3 separate regions of the Homo sapiens genome follow, and all the other regions are linked to region 1. Evidence: promoter capture Hi-C in human tissues and cell types (Jung and others, 2019). All regions are on one chromosome and are shown on one strand. Each heading gives the region's core, a stretch centred on a gene start or on the middle of the fragment in contact. The rest is flanking DNA. Distances are from core to core; before and after follow the strand shown.

The links. Contacts are between HindIII fragments. The study calls those that stand out against the background at their distance.
Region 2: a fragment that was not itself captured here is called in contact with the fragment with the promoter of RRAS2 in region 1 in 2 of the 25 tissues and cell types used here (mesendoderm cells and spleen).
Region 3: a contact is called between a fragment that was not itself captured here and the fragment with the promoter of RRAS2 in region 1, in 1 of the 25 tissues and cell types used here (hippocampus).

The regions. Positions count from the first base shown.
Region 1 is chr11:14,357,451-14,360,730 of GRCh38, forward strand. RRAS2 (RAS related 2) reads right to left here and starts at 1,733. Exons shown (of 6, transcript NM_012250.6): 1 at 1,313-1,733. The coding sequence starts at 1,420. RefSeq lists an enhancer at 563-662 and silencers at 903-1,022, 1,063-1,262, 1,333-1,832. The HindIII fragment of the contact is 8,284 bases long and covers 610-3,280 here.
Region 2 is chr11:13,918,692-13,921,971 of GRCh38, forward strand. LINC02683 (long intergenic non-protein coding RNA 2683) reads right to left here. Exons shown (of 2, transcript NR_135052.1): 2 at 2,756-3,270. Among named protein-coding and RNA genes, the nearest start is that of LINC02683, 4.5 kb to the right of the region's middle. The HindIII fragment of the contact is 6,050 bases long and covers 1-3,280 here.
Region 3 is chr11:13,954,353-13,957,632 of GRCh38, forward strand. No RefSeq gene overlaps it. Among named protein-coding and RNA genes, the nearest start is that of SPON1, 6.7 kb to the right of the region's middle. The HindIII fragment of the contact is 4,411 bases long and covers 1-3,280 here.

The sequences.
Region 1 (3,280 bases), core at 483-2,982:
ATCTCACCCCTTACTCAGTGATTTTTTTAACCCACTAATAAGCATACTGTAAATGCTCATTACATAAAACATCCTTTCTTCCTGGATTCAAAGGTTTTAGCAGCAGTAATCCAGGGAATATTATAGCAGCAATTATTGCTCATTTACTCAATGTGAAAGGTGACAATCACATTTGTTACAGTACTCAATATTTTAATGTCACTATAAACACTAAGTGAAATAAGCTATTCAGGTATCCCAATTAATGACAAATGGGTGAAAAGGAAACCAGACAAAAATATTTCACCGTTCATACTCTAGATACTGTGAAAAATATCCTTGTTTCCTGTTATAACAGGGTACCTTCGTTCTCTCCCAGCATATGCCACACCTTTTAGGTTGACAAAAGCAGAAAGACATCGGGGCTTTGTGTTTTAAAAATCCCAAAAAAGACTACTCAAACCTCTCCCCAAGAGCAAATTCTAAGAAGGAAGAATACCACCTCCCTTTTCTTTACCACAAACCCCTGACTTACCGTCTCTAGCAACCAGAGAGGGCTGGGGGTAGGGGAGAGGGTGGTTAGAAAACAGAACGCACGACTCGGTCATATCCTAGCCCGGCCCATCCCAAACTTCACCTAGGCACGGCGAGAAGCAGGACGGCATCAGGAATTCCTAGGAAATGGTCTCACCCCATCAGAGAACATTTTTAACTTCCTAGAAGCCACCATTTCCCCGGGGCATTATCACACACTCCCACCCGGACATATTACCTAAGAGAGTACTTATAAAAAGAGCGTAACACACACACAAAGAAATACACAGTACTTGAAGCGGGCAGCTCCGGCTCAGGCGGCGCGGGGAAGCCCGGAGACCACGCGGAGCCGCGGCCAAGTTGCCACCGCTATCGCCCCGACGGTGAAGGCGCGGCCGCAGGCGGCTGGAAAAGCAGCGCGCGGGGCTCCAGCTCCAGCCCCACGCCCGGACCCTCGGAGCAGTAAAGCCCGGCTCGGTGGCCCAGCCTCTCCCGGAGGTCTCTGGCCTCGGCCAGAGCAATAAGGTGGATCGGTGCTTCCCACCCTTCCAGCTCCGCCCTCCCGACCACATTCCTGAGAAGCCCTACTCCCGCGACGCCGCGCCCGGGAGGAGGCAGGAGCGCGACGCTGCGGCCGCAGGGCAGGAGCGTAGTCGGCCCCGCGCCCTCCCGCCCCCTGGCCCCGGCCCGGGCCCGCGAGGCGCCTCTGGGGCGAGGTCGCGGCGGCCGCCCCGCCACAGGTAGCGCCAGCCCCCGCCCGCCGCCGCTCCGGCGCCCCGGGCAGGCCCGCTCCAGGTACCTGGATGAACTGGATGGTGAGCGCCGACTTGCCCACGCCGCCCCCGCCGACCACCACGAGCCGGTACTTCTCCTGGCCGGAGCCGTCCCGCCAGCCGGCCGCGGCCATGGGGACGCTACAGAGCCCAGCCTGACTGCGCCGAGCCGCCGCTGCCGCCCGCCCTAGGCCCGGCTCCGGGGACGTGTGCGGCCGGCGGGCTGCGGGCGAGCGGCCGGGCTGGGGTCCCGGGTACCGGGAGGCGTCTGGAGGGCCGGTCAGCGCGGTAGCGCGGCGCTGGGGACTGGCTGGGTACCGCCCGAGGCGCGGAGAAGCGGGGTGACGGCACGGGCCAGGGGCGGCAGCGGCCGGGGGGCGCGCTCCTCTACGCGTCTCCGCAGCGCCTGCCGAACGCAGCCTCCAGCGCCGCCACAAATGGCCGTCTGGGGGCCGGGCTGCCAGGCTGAGGTGCTGCATATGCATGAGGGGGCGGGGAGGGGCGGGGCCGCGCCGCTTGGGGCTGAGGTTCGGGAGGTAACCCGGGCTTCAGACCCCCACGGACACACCGCTCTAATCCCTAGCCAGTGAGCGAGTGCGTGAGAGTGTGGGAGTGGGTGTCAGTTGGGAGTGGGACGAAGGCAGAAAGAGTGTGTCACCCTAATTGTCTATGTAAGGGATTGTGTGGATGAAAAATACAATATGTGACGGCGTGTGCGAAAAATAGGGCTGTTGGCATATTAACTCAATTTTATAGGAGAGTACATACCCTGCTTTAAGAGTACAGATGGTGACCATATTTGTGTGAAAAACAGTATGTGACAGTGATTGAGGATTAGAGCTGTGTCACAGTAATTGAGTGTGTGATGGGCTGGTGGTTGTGACAGTGTGAAGAATGGGACAGTGGCTGAGCATGGAGAATAAGTCAGTGATTGAGCTTGCATGGGCAAGACGGAATGTGACAGATTTTGTATGTGTCAGTACAGTGTCATAGTGGCTATGTTTATGTGTGACAAATGTGCAGTAATTGGATATGAGGAGTGTGAGTGCGAGGGGTTGAACTCCTGGCCTCAAGCAATCCTCCCGCCTCGGCCTCCCAAAGTGCTGGAATTACAGGTGTGAGTCACTGCACCCGGCCTCATGGGGTTTTTAATAAGAATTAAATGAGCACATAAAACAGTGCTGCTACACAGGAAGCATTTACAGCAATCTTGGAACATGACTGCAAGTTCTTGGACTTCACTTGGTAACTCATTTGGAACCAGTAGAATGCAGCAGAAGAGATGCTGCCTAATTTCCCAGGCTAGATCAGAAGAGGCCATGCAGCTGTTCTCTTGGTATTCTCACTCCGGGAGGAACAAAGTCAGAAGTTTGACTATCATAAGACTGCCATGCTAAAGAGGCTACATGTAGGCATGCCAGTCGAAGTCTGATTGATGGCCAGGAGCAACATGCCATTTAAAAAAAAAAAAAAAAAGTCCCACTGAGCTCCCACCAGATCACCAGCATCACCTGCCAGCCATCTAAGTGAGACATCTTGGACACTCAGCCTAATCGAGCCTTCCAATGACGGCATCCCCTGTTAGCATCTGAATGCAACTGCGTGAGAGACCCCAAGCAAAAATACCCATCCAGGCCAGCCCATCCTGAATTCCTTTTTTAAAAATCTTTTTTTTTTCTTTTTTGAGACAAGATCCCTCTGTCACCCAGGCTGAAGTGTAGTGGCACAATCATGGCCCACTGCAACCTCCAACTTCTGGACTCAAGTGATCCTTCCACCTCAGCCTCCCTAGCAGCTGGGACTACAGGCACATGCCATCAAGATCAGGTAATTTTTTTTTTTTTAAGAGACAAGGTCTCTCTATGTTACCCAGGCTAGTCTCGAACTCCCAAAGTGCTGGGATGGCTGGGCGCAATGGCTCATGCCTGTAATCCCAGCACTTTGGAAGGCCAAGGCGGGCGGATCGCTTGAGCCCAGGAGTTCCAGACCAACCT
Region 2 (3,280 bases), core at 419-2,918, 440 kb before region 1:
TATTTAAAATCTCCAAACAGAAATCCACTGAAGTGCAATAATTTTATTGTAGGATAGACTGAAAACAATATTTAACCCAGCAACTGGGCATCAAAGTGAGAAAGATTATATGCTAGAATGGCACAGGGAACGTGTTCCATGGTCTGCATTGCTGACTGCCACAGAACGCCTTGGGAGCAGGCTTGAGGCTTTCAGTGTCATTATGTAAGTACTCATAGACCACTTAGCCATGAGATATGACTTGTACATTTATATAAAGGAGAAAAGAAAGTCATTTTCCAAGTTAGTTTCCACAGCAACAATATTCCATATTTTCTTCTTCTGTGTCTAAACATGAGCATGCCTCAACTAGGGGGTGGAATATAATTCTTGCAAAATACCAGTTAAGACCAACCGTGAGTGTGAAAGCTTCAGGGATCACATTCATTCAACAAGCACTGATTACAAGCCTACCCTAGACCAGGAACTGTGGGAGACCTTGGAGATGTAGGGAGGAAGAAGCCCCAAGGTCTGCCCTCTAGATCCTTGTGTGCAATGAGAAAGAGCCAGATAGAAGGATGAATTAATAGAATGTGATAAAGTGCTATAATGGAGATACGTTTGGAGTATTAGGAGGGGGCAATTAACAGCCCCAAGAAGTCATGGACATTTGACCTAGATTTTGAATTTGAAAGAGGTATTTGACCTTGATCTTGAATGATCAATAAACTTTTGCAAATTGGGGAGGAAAGACGGGAAAGTGGGCAATTAAGACAAAGACAAATGTATGTTCAAAAACATACAAACTGAACAAATAGAGGTATGGAAGAGCAAAATCATTGAGAAAAGACAGGGTGGAGGGGGTGAGGAAGAGGCTATGAAGTAGGTTGAGGCTGTTTGGGAAGCATAATATGTGCCTAACTAAAGTGTAAGGATTTGATCTTGTAGATGATGAGAAACCACCAAACCTAATAACGCAGAGGCGAGATCAGTTTTATGCTATTAGAATATTCACATGAGCTGCAGAATAGACAATGAAAATAATTGAAAGAGTTGGGAAGAATGAAGGCAGAGTGATCCCCCTAAGATTTCATAGTTTATCTCAGGGTTTGAGAATGTACTGGGATGTAAAAACATGTGCATATGCTTTGGATCCTAATAGAGTACTCAGCAAAAGTTAGTTCTCTCTTTCCCTCCCCATCTTGTTTAACCCCATACTTGGCAGCTGAGCTACTGTTAATCCTTTGCTGAGATTTTGCAGAGGAGGATTTTAGGCATGAAGAGAAAAATTCGTGGCCCAAAGTTACAGAGCTAGGAAATGGCAGGGCTAGAATTTGAACCCAGGCATTCAGACACCAGAGGCAGGGTGAGTAATCACCACACTGTTACCTTTAGCTAAGTGGGAGATTTGTTGTAAGGATTAAGTGAGACGATATATATTTCTTGCTGAGATGATGATATAGTTAGCCATTTGACTGAATCCTTACTCCTCCCCCAAAACCTGTCCTCCTGGTCTGTGACCTTAATCTGGTCAGTTCCCATTTTTCAGGGTCCCACATCAGCCCTCATAGTTCTGTACTTACCTTCATCCCAAGGTTAGAATTGCTCTCTACAGTCTTTGTTGCAGTTTCTTTTCTAATTTCAGGTCCCAACACCTTCTCTCCCATGTGTTCTCATGTAATACCCCTCTCAATGGCCCTTTGTGAAATGCCTGGCCCTCTTCATATAGATCCTGGTACTCTTTCCCCCTGAAGTAAGTTTCCAAAGTGGGAATACCACAGAGCCTCTCTTGACCAGAGATCTTGCTTGTTAAATAGATATTAATCAATGTTGCTGAGATGCCACTCTACCTAAAACTGCCCCACTCAAAATTCTGAGATTTGTGACCCAAGAGGATCCAGTCTGGTGACCAATTCAATTCTCTCTCTCTCTCTCTCCTCTCTCTCTCCCTGTCGGACTTAAAACTAGAGACTGAGATACTTAGTCCATCTGAGATGCTAGAACTTGGAAGTCAGGTGGAGCAGAAGCTTGGGCTCTGCTCCTGGACCTGCTGGAGCTGGACTACGGATGGGGAGAGTTGAGGGATTGTGCAGCCCCTTACCCTTGGTTCCTGGCTTTAATGGATGTTGGCTCTCTATAAAGCCCTTGGGATCTGAGAGACATTCACTATCTGCTTCCATTGAGCTTTCCTTCTGGGGTTGTGTCATTTTGAGTGGGTTTCTGTTTCTCACATTCAAATATTTCCTAACTCTGCTATAGAACTATGAGTGGTGTTGTCATATATGAGTTGTGTGCGGGCTCAATTGTAAACCCCATCAGAGCCAGATAAAAAGAATTTAGGGGGAGTGATGGAATCCATATTGAGACTTGGCATCCAAAGTAGGTTTCTTTTCTTTGCTCATAGCTTGTAACGATGTTATAAAAGAGGCTGCTTCTGTTGCCACCTAATTTTCTTTTTTTTAACCTCTCGGGGTAGACTATAACAAAGGACTCTAGAAAAACAATTATCCACTTTTATGTGGCTTAAAATATTTGGCCAGCCTTACCCTAACAATTTTGGCTAATATGAGAGCAAATTGTGGAGACTAATTATTTAAAGTCCTAAGAATTATAGTACTAAGGAACATACACGTAGAGTGGGGGCCACCAGTAAATTTTAGGATTCAGAAGCTGCGTCTGTTTGTCATTGTTATAAGCCTGTGTGTGTGCGCGCACACACACACACACACACACACACACACACACACACCAGGATTCTACCACACAAGACAGCACCTGACTTTTTAAAATATGTCCTTTTTTATTTTGACAGTGAGCTATGCCAGGTGATCAATTTGAATGACCATTAATCAGTGCAATGAGGTGTCAAAGAAGGCAGAAATCATTAGGAAGGTATTGTCTCTGGAGAGTTTTGCAATTTTCCAAATTTATCTTTATCTAAAGAGACTCATGAGGCTCCACGGTGACATATGTGTCCTATTTACTTCATCAGAACCAGGGTAGCTGGGCACAGATGCACCCAATGAGGGATGAGCTATATCAGTCTGGGGCAAGCTGCATTCTGAGAGGTCAGGGCCGATTGCAGGGAAGGGTCGGCAGAAGGGCAGCACGAGGACATCATCTCATCCAAGAGGTGAGTGTTAGTTAGGCGTGCCCGAGAGGGATGAAGACCTTGAATATCACCAGGCCTCTGGAGACTGGTGTCGCAGGAGTACAATCCTGTCCTGGAAAGGGTAGCCAGAGCTCGGCAGTGGGATGGATCTGTCTGCATCCTCAACAAGGAGAGGTTTCCTATATGAAA
Region 3 (3,280 bases), core at 321-2,820, 400 kb before region 1:
TGTATATGTGAAATAACAATTGGATGGCACTTTATTTAAAGCCACAACCCAATTGGTAAACCTGACACTTCAGCAATTATATTTTCCAGCTGAGAGACGTGCAAAACTTGAGCCCTAGTTAATTGGAAGGCATAAAAAGAGCCTTTTTATTGCCTCACATGGATACTTCATTATGGTAATAGGAGGACGGGAGCCTCATTTCCTCTGTTGTTTCTCAGACACTCTTATGTATTTCTTTATGCACTAAATATGCTTTCTGGTCATTTCTGTCTTCTTCCCTATTTCCAGTTCTGTTTGCTTTGTCTCCTTCCCTCCCTTCTGTCTCTTTCTCTTCTTGTCAGGCAGAAAGGATGTAGGTCTATTTTCTCCTCTACTCTCCGCCCTCAGTGCCTTCCTCCAGTTCCAGCTTTATGCATGAGCAAAGGAGCGATCAGCCAACAAGCTTGGGAAGCTCTCCAGAACCATGAGTACCTTCTAGGTTACAGAGGCTAGAGTCCTACATCTTTTGTTTACCCTGGGATGCCATTGTAAACATCCTCCTGTGTCACCTTGTGAACCAGGTAGGGAACTCAAGATTACTATTTTCCCATTAGCATGCTAGCAAAATTACATCTATCAAATCGGTCTATTGGTTTGGAAATCAGAGCACAAAGCTGAGAAGTAACATAAGACAGCTAAGCTTTGAGAGTATCTTAAAGGGAGTGTTGGGGCACAATACCAACTCCCAGGTCTCTGTCTCCAGTGCTCACTCCCTTCTGAGATAGAAACCTATTGTCTTTGACAGTCCACTGTACATCCCCCTCTGAAAGACCCCTTAAATGTCAAGTGTCCACAATGGAATATATATCATCTCACACATTCCTCATTCCCACATGTCCCGTGGGTTCTCTTCTTGAATTTGTTGTCTTGGAAAAATATACCACTGAGGTGGTAGATATACAACCCAGTGGCCCTTATGAGAACTCTCAGAGCCACTCCCGTCTCCCTTCCTGCATATCACCAGGCGTTCCATCCTCTTTAGTCTGCTTCCTGAACAGCCCTCCAATTCATCCCTTCCTCCTAGCCTTAGCTCGCAGCTCTCCTCTGGACTGTTGTTAAAGCCTCTTAACATGTGTCACCCCCCCTACACTCTCACTGGACAATCCATCTTCATACAATGCCACTGAAAAGGTCACTCTGCTACCCGAAGGACACACTCTGCCTTCTCTCATCTCTAAGCTTTTGCATTAGCTCTCCTCCCCTCCTATATTCTCCATCCCCGTGTCCAGTTGACAAGTTCTGATCTGTCTTTCGAGAAGGTGTTGAGTACCTTTTCAAGTGTTACTTTACCTGGGCAGAATTAGTTACTCCCTTCTCTGTGCCCCCTTTAATACTTAGTACACATAATTCTTTGTTTTACAAATATCTGCTTTATCCATCTCTGCGGCTTCTTGAAGGCAGGAATTATGTCTTGTTTTTCTTTGGATTACCTCCTCCAATACATGTTTGCTGAATGAATGAAAGGCTTAAATTTCACAAAAATTCACTAAACACCTGCTTTATGCAGACATATTATTCTAAAATAGTGTAAAACTCAATGAGTCTATTCTCAAAGAGCAAACAATCTAGTCTAAAATGGGCCCAAACATTCCAGTTTAAAATAGGTTCAAGGAGTGCCGGGGTGCTTAGGAGTTTTTACTTAATACTGCTGCATGTTCAGTTCACTGTCACCAGGTGGCAGTAGTGTGCCATGGTCATGTGGTCCAAGCCATGAAGTTCCCAGAACTTCAAAAAAGTGGTTCTGCTTGGGTCGGGTTGCTAGATTAATAGCAAGAGAACCACAAGGGGAATGTAGACTGCGTCTGGGTTCTATGTGTGGCTGGACTTGCAAGGGTTTGCTCTTGGGAGCTGCCCACAGCTGCACCTGGCATGCTGTGCTGCATTTAGACACAGTGCTCTCTTTAATCCGTAAACCTAAAAGCAAGGAGACTTAGAGATCTCCAGGTTGGGAGCAGATCTATACCTTGGAAGACCTCCTGCTGTGCAATTCTTTTTAACTGCTCTCAGTGGTGAGCTTCTATTCCGCTGTTTTTAATTCAGACAACGTCTATGGCAATTAGGAGGTCTTAGGTGATCTCTGTTAGAACACTTTCCGTAAAGAGATATGAGCTGATTCCAAGCTACACCACATGAAAAAAAAAATGAGTGAAAACTGAGGAAACAGAGTTACAACAGAGGACACAGAGAGTGAGACAAGGTCAGTAAAAAGTCCAGTCTCTTGACTAGCACTACCTGAATCCCTAGTCCAATTCCCCGCCCAGGATGGGGAAGACTTAGCTAGAGCCGCAGGCCAAGGACATGGACAGAAACAGAAACAGAAATACAAGAGGGAGAGAGGATAAGAGCTAGATCAGTGTTTGGCAGAAGTCAGGAAATGAGGACAAGAATGCAAGTAGGGGATTAGCCTTGAAAAAATTGAAGAGTTAAACCCTTCTGCATTTGAGGCAAGAAGTGAACTTGGATTTTGCCAGAGTTTGGTTTGTGGAAGGAGATATGGAGATTTGAAGAAGTTCATGCCTAATGTCCCCCATGTGAGGGATAAAATAAGAGGGCAAGTAACCACCCCTCTCCATACCAAAGAGTGAGAATTAAAGAGTGATGAAGCAGGCTTGAAAAGATGGTAAGGACTAGATGAATAGGAAAAGAAACTGATTAGGAATAAATTTAAGAACTATACTTAAAGGTAGAATTCATGCATTTGTAGTAAAGTAATTGGCAGGGTTACCAGGTTTTGTGCAGCAGAACTCAGAAGTCGGGGAGGGTTCCATTGTTTTGCTTGGTTGATTTGCTGTAGGTTGGGGGTTAAAGAGGAGGAACAGAAATAAAAGAGGAGAGCTAATGAAGAATGGTGGTTAGGATATAGTTAAAATGATTGAACATGGTGTCCAGGCTGGGTGGGGAAGGAATTAACAAGATGGGCTGGAAAAAATCAGAAGTGACTAAGCAGCTGTAGACCTCAATGACATAGAGGAGGTGAGAAATGGGAAAGCTGGAAGTAAAATGAGAAAGTGCTATTGGGAGCTCAAGATTCCCAAAGAAGAGGGTGTTTCTGTGGGAGAGGGCTGCTGATATGGAGGGAGGCCAAGCTCATTGGAGTAGAGGAGGTTAGAGCAGAGACTAAATTGTCAGCTCAGACTTCATCAGGCTAATCTCCCAGGCCCATAGCATGAGACAATAGGCAGGAAGCTAGAGAGCCAGTTGCAGAGTCCACAGTGGCTGCAGGAAAGTGACCTGGAGGCTA